2 separate regions of the Homo sapiens genome follow, and region 2 is linked to region 1. Evidence: promoter capture Hi-C in 16 types of primary human blood cells and fetal thymus (Javierre and others, 2016). All regions are on one chromosome and are shown on one strand. Each heading gives the region's core, a stretch centred on a gene start or on the middle of the fragment in contact. The rest is flanking DNA. Distances are from core to core; before and after follow the strand shown.

Region 1 (4,417 bases), core at 1,069-3,568:
TGGTGGCCACAGGACACACCAGGAGCAGGGTCTGAGCACTTGCTCCAGCCAAGCACTGCGAAGTATTGCAGGTAGGGAAGTAACAGTTCCCATCCTTATGGGGATAATGGGATGAATCAACAGCAGAAAGCAATCTACTAGAAAGGCACAATAGTAAGCCCACTTCCCAGAGGGAAGAGAAGAGAGAAATCATTCTGAAATAGATCTGTCCTGTACCTTACATCGTATCTTTCTCAGGATGAAGCAATAAGGTGGAAAACCCTTTGCAGATACTCAGGCCCAGATGTGAAATCCAGTTCTCCTCCTTGCAAATGGCATGCTCTTGGGCAAATTATTTAATCTCGTTTAGTGTCCTGACCTGTAAAATGGGGCCTCCGTCATGGACTTGTAAGGATTTGCTGTGATAAAATATGCCAAGCACCCAGCGTCTGGCACATAGTAGGTGCTCAACAAACCTTAGCGTCTGTTCTCATATGTGTGGTACTTCATGTTTCTGTTCCTTGCAGCTAGCACAGTACTGCGCATGTAACCAGTGTCAAAAATGTGTCAAGGAGAATACATTGACCGAGTGGAATGTGAATTGTAAACAAAAAAGGAAAAATAGGAACCTGGTCTCTGGGCAGATTCTGCCTGAAGACGTTAAAAAGCCCTGTATTTATTTCGTCAAGTTGCCATGGCAGCAACTGATGCTCCAGCCAGCTCCAGGGTTAGCAGGGATCAGTTTATCTTGTTAACCATGGAAATTCCGGAGGTTCAGTGGGATCCAGAGGGGAAGGCAGACACAGTTCTTCTCCAGTCTAGAAATAAATCCTGGAAAGCCTCCTTAGTTTTCATGTAGCTAAAACCATCATTATCTAAAATGATGTTTACATGACAATTTTTATAAGTATGGATTTAGGCACAGGAGATGTAAAATCAGGCAAAAAAAAAAGGGCCAGCGATACTCAGAAGGGCAATTAGCATCATGGAAAACTTAAGGGGCTGCCGGAGAGCCAGGATCTAGACCCCCAGAACTAACTTGGGGCTTCCGCATCTTTTAAGCCTCCATTTGCAGACTCGCTGTCCACACACAGTCTGGATTTTGCTGTCACTTTTTAAACAGGCTTCCACTACAGGTGAAGCTTGGGGAAAAAGCAAGTGTCCCCTCAAACTTCGTTCCCTGTAAAAGAAAACAGCAGCAGATGGGGTCCCTGCCACACACCCTGGAGACAGAAGGGAGCCTGGGTGGCCTCCCGACCTCTCTGCTCCCACCATAACCAACCAACACAACCAGAGAAGGTGCAAGATGTGGCTTTGGTAGATTGGGACTTACTCTCCCAGGCCAAACGCAGCCCTTCCCTGGAGCCAGCTCTGGGTCTTCTCTAGGGTCACAGACTGATGGAGAAATCCGGGATTTGTCTTTGTTCTGGCTCAAGAGAGTTAAGGCACAGAAATAGAATCATCACCCAAGCTCAGAACTCCAGGGCATTCTGCCGGAGGAAAATTCAAGCTGTGAGAGATTTGTTTTTCCGGCCACTGGGAGCCTGTTTGTGTCGGGGAGGGGGGTGGGGGGGTTCTGGCCGCGCTGGGCACTGGTGGCTCCATCAGACTCTACACAAAGCAAAACAGGACAAACGACCGCGGCGCGTCGACGCTTGGCGGGTCACGGTCACAAAGCGGGTCTCAGAGCCTTCCTCAGGCGGCGGCAAAGGGGGCGCCCGAGGTCACCGGCAAGAGACAGATTACTGGCGCCTCGGGAAAACAGAGTGGGGAAGGGCGAGACTGTGTGCCCATCCACGTTCGCGCGGGTCTGAGCTGGCCCGGCCTTGGAGGGCTCCGGGACCCCAGAAGGGGGACAGCAGTGGGGGATGGGCAGAAGGGGGCGACTCGGGCTGCCCAGGCTCCTCGCAGCCTTCCTGCCAACGAGAGGGGCCCGGGCGGGAACAGCTCGAGCCGCGGGGGTGCGGGGCGCGCAGCCCGCCCCACCCCGGGAGAGCCGCGATCGCCGCCCCCGACGCGTGCACCAAGTGGGGGTGTCCGGCTCGGGACAAAGGACCGGGACGCGGATCGCGGGCGGGCGCCACTGCCCAGCCCCAGCGTGGAGGGCGAGACCGTGGCCCCGAACCTCCCCAAACTTGGCGGCCCGGGGCGCGTGGGGGGGACGCCCCGTTACCTGCGCGGCCATAAAGGAGAGATCCATGGTGTCGCTGCAGCCAGCGCTCGAGTCCTCGCTGCTGCCGCTGCCGCTGCGGGTCAGCCGCCTGCACAGTTGGCGGGGATCGGGCTGAGCAGCGAGCGTCCGGAGACCGCACGGCGCACTCGGCTGTCTCTGGGCTTCTGGCTCCAGATCTCTACTAGGCGGAGGGCCCCGAGCGCGGGGGCGGGCGGGGCGGGGTGGGGCGGGGCTCGGCGGACGGGGCGCCCCTCCACGTGACCACTCCCCGCCCCACCCCCGGGGCGGGGTCCGTCAGAAACCCCAAGCGCTCGCAATCGCCTCCCTTCGTGGGCGGGATGGGGAAACTGAGGCCCGAGGCCGCCCCGCTGGTTGGTGCAAGAACCAGCCTGCAACCCAAGTCCTGAGCTGTTGGCGCCCCGCCCCGTGCAGTTGAACCCAACCCACCCGGGGCTGTGGGCAGCGCTCTCTTGGGGCTGACACGTTATCCCGAGCCTGAGGACCAAGATCGGAGTGACCTGGCTTTCCACGCCAACGCTCCTCCCAGAGTCCGGTGTACTCCCGGCTCGGCATCTGGGCAGAACGAGGTTTAATCCTAGCCCTGCTTTGTTGTGCAGCTTGAGCAAGATAGTGTCTTTGAGCCTAGATTTCCTCATCTGTGAAAAGAGAATACAGAACCGAATAATTAAATGAGATAGGGAATATAGCACGCGGTGTCCTCAATAAATGAGAGCCCTAACATGGCTAATCATCCAATAGAGACGAGGCTGTGAGTGGTGTCTTCGAGGACCGCACGGTGCTCAGGTTGCACAGCGGGTACTCCATGGCTCTCAGCTCAAACCAGTATCGAAAATCATGCAGGTGCCACAGTTCAAGTAAGGGGAACAGAAGAGACGCCCACAGGGGCCCATTGCTCTGTATGTGTGTGTGTGTGTGTGTGTGTGTGTGGTGGACACCACAGACTTGGTGACACGTGGAGGCTTTGCCCTCCGGGGGCTCACTGGGAGGGAACCAGCTGTACTCTAAGGAGTCTCAGTGAGTACGACTGGTCCCTTTGGGTGATGTCTCTTCCAGGTACTTTACACTCATGGTCATCACGAGCCTCTGTGAGGGGCAGCCTGGGACTCCCAGACTTTGTCACAGGCAAGGAAGCTGTGGCACAGGGAGATGGAGGGGTTTGTTCAAGGTCCCCCGGCAGCTGGGGGCCCAGTAGGGACTGTGGCTATGGGAATGGGACCAGAACCTCACTGACCTACAGAAGGCTTTCAGTGTTATCTTTCCTGTAACTTTCCTTTCTTTTCTTTTCCTTCCCTTCCTTTCTCCCTCCTTTTCTTCCTCCTCTTCCTTCTCTCCTTCTCTCCCCTTCCCCCCACTTTTTTCTTTCTTTTCTCTTTTCACTTTTCCTGTCATGCTTGCCTCCTCCCTTCCTCCTCTGGTCTCTAAACCCTCCAGTTCCCTGGCCCTCCCTTCCCTCCCTGTTTTTAGCCAGTACTGCACTCACCACACCCATCATTCCTGCCACCTCCCAGCCTAGTCCACACGGGGCCTGCCCAAACAGTCCATGCCAAGAGCCGCCCACCTCCTCCCACCCTTCCTGTGGCCAATAGCAAAGCAGCCTGCCCAGAACTGCCCAGGGCTCCCCGTCTGCTGTAAGAAATATTATGTACACGGCATACTTCACAATAAAAGGGCGTATAGGTTGTGTGTGTGCAATTTGAAAAATAATATAGCCTTGCATAGGTTAAAAAGTGGAACAATAAAAAACAGTCGTGAAGTCCTACTGTGTATCTCTCCAAAGGCATCTCCTACCTGCCCCCTTTCCAGGGTCACCTCCATCCTATTTAGTATTCACTCTTGTCAATTCTCTTGCTTTTCTTTATAGTTTTACCTTTATAGATTACCTGCTTTAACCCTTTGTAGAAAAATTAAATTGCTCTAAATTTGCTCTTCCATGTCTTCTTTGTTGTTTTCTCAGCATTATTTGTGTAGTTGACGTATATTGTTTTTCAGTGCTACACAATATTCCATTTGTATGTCCTTATCACAGTTTTTATTGATGCACTAGCCCTTTGATGGATACTTTGGTCATCTCCAGGTTTTCTGATAACGCCAAAAAAAAATGCTGCTGTGAATACTCTCGATCTTGTCTTTGGATGCACAGGTGCAAGGGGTCCTCAGGGAATACGCTAGGAATGGAACAGTTGGGTATTGTGGTCAGCTCATCTGTGCTTTTACTAATTGATGCCCATTGCTTTCCAGTTTCTG
Region 2 (4,471 bases), core at 101-2,600, 480 kb after region 1:
AGTGTCAGGATTACAGATGTGAGGCATTGTGCCCAACCAGATGTTACTCTTCTCCCCTCTGACAGGTGAAAAGGCCTGTGGAGTAGAAGGGAGGGGCAGGTTTGCCCAGGGTCTCACAGTAAGAGACAAGCACCATACCAGGTACTGCCTGATCCCAAACCCACAGCGAGGGGAACCCGCGATGCTCGATCACCATGGCGGCACAGCAGTGAGCTTGGACCCTGGGGCTCAGACCGCACCCCCACATGCAGTTTTTTGTGACGCCAATAACACCATCATCACTCTGACCCCACAAACACAGCACAACCCAACAGAAGCTGGTTAGCAAGACTGTTCTCAGCAAGCCACTCCCAGCAGGGACACAGCCGCAGCTGGCTACTTTTCTCCCCAAAGGCCCTGTTCTGGGACATTGACTCATTGACTTTGCAAACTGCCAAGGAGGAAGGCAGCCAGCCAGCATCCTTGTCTTTATTTTCCCTGACACCTGGGCCTCTGAATCCCACACATTAACCAACATCTCTGAGGGTGTCTGGGCCAGGCCTTTGCAGCTGCCAGCAGATTTCCACGGGCATTTGGAAGGACTGGGAGGGTCTACCCCTACCACTCCCTGCCCATGAGATATCCCGGGCACCTTCTCAGCAAAGCTCAGCCTCACGGGTGTCCTTTCTGGGGACATGGCAGCGTGGGGAGAACTAACAGCAAGTGTGCAGCCACCGGCAGGTCTCGGCCCCATTGGGTTGGAACTAGCTCAAGGACCTTAGACAAGGCACTTCTTTTTCTAAGCTTAAGTTTTTAAAATTGGCCTGTTATTAAGAACTGAGTCACCAAATAAAAGTGATGATTTGCTGTGATTTTCTTTTTATTCGTTCACTCACTCATTCAGTATTTACTGCGTACCTTTGCTAGGCTTCACACTCAGTTTGTTACCAATAGGGATTTTTTTTTGTTGTTTGTTTGTTTGTTTTGAGATGGAGTCTTGATCTGTCGCCCAGGCTGGAGTGCAATGGCGCGATCTCAGCTCACAGCAACCTCTGCCTCTGGGTCCAAGCAATTCTTCTACCTCAGCCTCCCGAGTAGCTGGGATTATAGGCATCCACTATCTGGTTAATTTTTGTATTTTTAGTAGAGACGAGGTTTCACCATGTTGGCCAGGGTGGTCTTGAACTCCTGACCTCAGGTGATCCGCCCGCCTCGGCTTCCTAAAGTGCTGGGATTACGGGCGTGAGCCACCGTGCCCGGCCCAGTAAAGGATATTGACTGCAAGTTGTCCAGGTTCTTGGCATTTTGAGCAAAGAATTGGACAAAATGCACAGCAAAGCAGGGAAAGAATGAAGACATGAAAGCAGAGATTTATTGAAAGTGAAAGTACACTCCACAGGGTGGGAGTGACCAGAGCAGCGGCTCAAGGGCCCTGTTACAGAATCTTCTGAGGTCCAAGTACCCACCCACTGGAGGTTTCCCATTGGCCACTTGGTGTTCACCCCATGCAAATGAAGTGGCAGCCCGTGATCAGTCTGATTGTTGCAGAAAGTGCCCACAGGGCTGGGCTTGATGTGTTACGTCCTTGGTCCTCACAACAGGTATTGTGAGTGCGTCTGTACCATGACAAAGCCTGGGGCTCTGAGGCCATGTGTACTTTGCCTATGATCACTCAGCTAATAGGAGGGGTGCAGGACTCGAACCCAGGCTCGCTGCTCCTAAGCCATTCTCCTAACCATTGTGCAATGGTGCTTTCCTAGAGCTCTTACAATCCAGTAGTGTTCACAACACTCATACAGCTAAGCCTGATGTCGGGCTGGTCATACAGAGCGAGTAGGATTTCAGAGGAGAGAGGCAGCAGGTTTTATCTAGATGGACCAGGCAAGACTTGGAGGAAGACGCCACATTGAGCCTGATTTTACAGCAAAGCAAAGCTTCCACCTTCCCCCTCCACTCCTACTGCTTTGGCTATGCCAGGTCCCTCTGGGAATTTTCATTCTAGTGGAGGCGACAAGTGACCTCCCAAGGGCTGAGATAGTGAAGGGATGGGGACCCAGGAGACACACGTCAGGATAGGGAGATGTGACCTATGCTAGGGGGTCAGGCAGGCCTCCCCGGAGACAGGTGTTTTCAGCTGAGCCCCATGGGATGAGTACTTTTATCTGGATGAGAGAAGGTTCAAAGAGAGGGAATGAGCTCCCAAAGAGGACAGCATTTTTTAGACCCAAGGGATGAGAGAGCCTGGAGCCTGCAGGAGAATGAAAGCAGCTGAATGTGAGGGAGCACAGACAGCCAAAGAAGACATCACCAGAGTGGGCCCAGAGCCACAGGGCCTCAGCAGCTACTGCCGGGGTCGTCCTGAGCTTTCTGGCACAAAGGGAACCACTGCATAGTTGAATCCAGGATGAGTTACAGGTGTGTGGTTTCTTAAGCACGGGTAATGGACAGGTGGGGCTAGTTAGGAAATACGGGGTATGGTAAGGGGTTGGTGTGGAGAGAAGAAATGCAATTCAAGAGATATTTGGGGGCAGATACCAACAGGACTTGTTTGGATTGGAAGAAGGAGGCAAATGGGGTTTCCAGGTGTCTGGCTGTGGCAACCAATTTGGCAGCAGCTTTCGACAATGAACTACTTGGAAATTGCAATTTGTGTGCGGCGTGTCACATTTTCCAGCACAATATCATGTGTATTCTTAGAGTCTTCAGTCAGGTGGGAAATGAAGGTGCTATCAAAGGACCCTGACAGACAGCGCAGGGATAGCCTGTCTTGAATATGGCAGAGTCAAACCCACAAGCTCTTGGGGAGTCCTTAAACAATTGAGATTACCTTCTTTGATGACCACCCGCAGCCCAAGGGGAGGATACTTTGAATACCACCTACTCCACATCCCAACTAAGGAAAGGAAAACAAAGTTGGCTACCCCCAACTGTCTGGGATTTTTCAATTTTTGCCTTTTTCCCTCTCTCTTGTGTCTCCTATATAAATCCTACCCATGTAGAAGTCAATCTATCATTTGTTTCCCTCATAGATAAGCAAATTAATTGGCTTATTATATTACCTATGTCTTTTATTTATTCTTTGATAGGAGGCACTATTATTTTCTCCTTTTTACCGATGAGGAAACTGAGGCTCCGAGAGCTTGAGTGGTTTGTCCAAGGTAAATGGGAGCCAGGTTCTGATTCTGGTCTTCAGTGCCCAAATTCCTGCCCCTCTCTCTAGGACAGCTCGAAGCCCTATTCTGGCCTATTAAAGGGAGCATTTCCAGAGAGAAAAAAAAATGGATGTGGACACATTCGACGTTTCTGATATGATTGTGTTGTCTGGAGCCCAAACGCTCTCCCTCGGGCCCTTGAAATGATGGGAAGGATGCAAGGTCAGAAAAAATGTGGAATGTACGGGACTCGGGCTCTACCTGGGGACATAGAGAAATCTCCCTGATTTGTTTTTCACATAGAGAATTTACTTAGGGAAGGTGGAGAGTGCAGAACGCGGCTCCGCGTGGTGGCGAAGCATAAGAAGTGCACCTGCAGGCAGAAGGGAGCCAGATGGAGGCCACCTGCAATAACGGGGCTCATTCCCGGAGAAGCAGCGCCATCTGCTGGTTTCCCATGATATGACTGTGTCAGACCAGAACAAAAGCATTTAGAACAGGCCATCTCAAAGAAATGCTAGCCTGATATTTTACCTTTTGGAGTAAAATTTCAGACTATGCAAGGATTTGATCCACTTAGCATTGAAAACAAAACCAAAAGCAACCTGCTGTGGTCCGAATGTTTGTGTCTGCCCTAAATTCCTATGTTGAAATCCTAACTAACCCCAAGGGTGATGGTACTAGAAGATGGGGCCTATGGGAGGTGATCAGGTCGTAACGGTGCAATCCTCAGCAGAGGGATTAGTGCCCTTATAAAAGGGACCGCAAAGACACCCTAATCCCTGCTACCATGCAAGGACATAGGAAGAAGCCGCTAGCTATGAGGAAGTGGGTCCTCACTAAACACCAAATCAGCCGGGGCCTTGATCTTGGACTTGCCAGCCTCCTGAACTGTGAGAAATATATATATATATTTGAGACAGAGTCTTGCTCTGTTGCCCAGGCTGGAGTGCAGTGGCACAGTCATGGCCCATTGCAACCTCCACCTCCTGGGCTCAAGCAATCCCTTCACCTCAGCCTTCCAAGAAGCTGGGACTACAGGCATGCACCACCACACCCGGATAATTTTTGTATTTTTTGTAGAAACAGGTTTTCGCCATGTTGTCCAGGCTAGTCTTGAACTCCTGGCTTCAAGCAATCTGCCTGCCTCAACCTCCCAAAGTGTTGGGATTACAAGCATGAGCTACCACACCCGGCCAAAATTTCTGTTGTTTTATAGCCACCCAGCTTACAGTATTTTGTTATGGCATCCTAAACAGTCTAAGGAATGAGCTTTTGTTAATTATTCAATAAATAGTGTTAAGCCCTTAGAAAAATAAGACAGACATAGTTTCTGCCCT

The links. The method cuts DNA at HindIII sites, captures the fragments that hold promoters and counts their contacts. A CHiCAGO score of 5 or more calls a contact.
Region 2: a contact is called between a fragment that was not itself captured here and the fragment with the promoter of C14orf132 in region 1, in 2 of 17 cell types (endothelial precursors and naive B cells). The highest score is 8.3, in endothelial precursors.

The regions. Positions count from the first base shown.
Region 1 is chr14:96,037,263-96,041,679 of GRCh38, reverse strand. C14orf132 (chromosome 14 open reading frame 132) reads right to left here and starts at 2,318. Exons shown (of 2, transcript NM_001252507.3): 1 at 2,153-2,318. The coding sequence starts at 2,179. RefSeq lists silencers at 2,209-2,258, 2,279-2,468. The HindIII fragment of the contact is 11,225 bases long and covers 1,124-4,417 here.
Region 2 is chr14:95,560,191-95,564,661 of GRCh38, reverse strand. No RefSeq gene overlaps it. Among named protein-coding and RNA genes, the nearest start is that of LINC02318, 11 kb to the left of the region's middle. The HindIII fragment of the contact is 1,130 bases long and covers 786-1,915 here.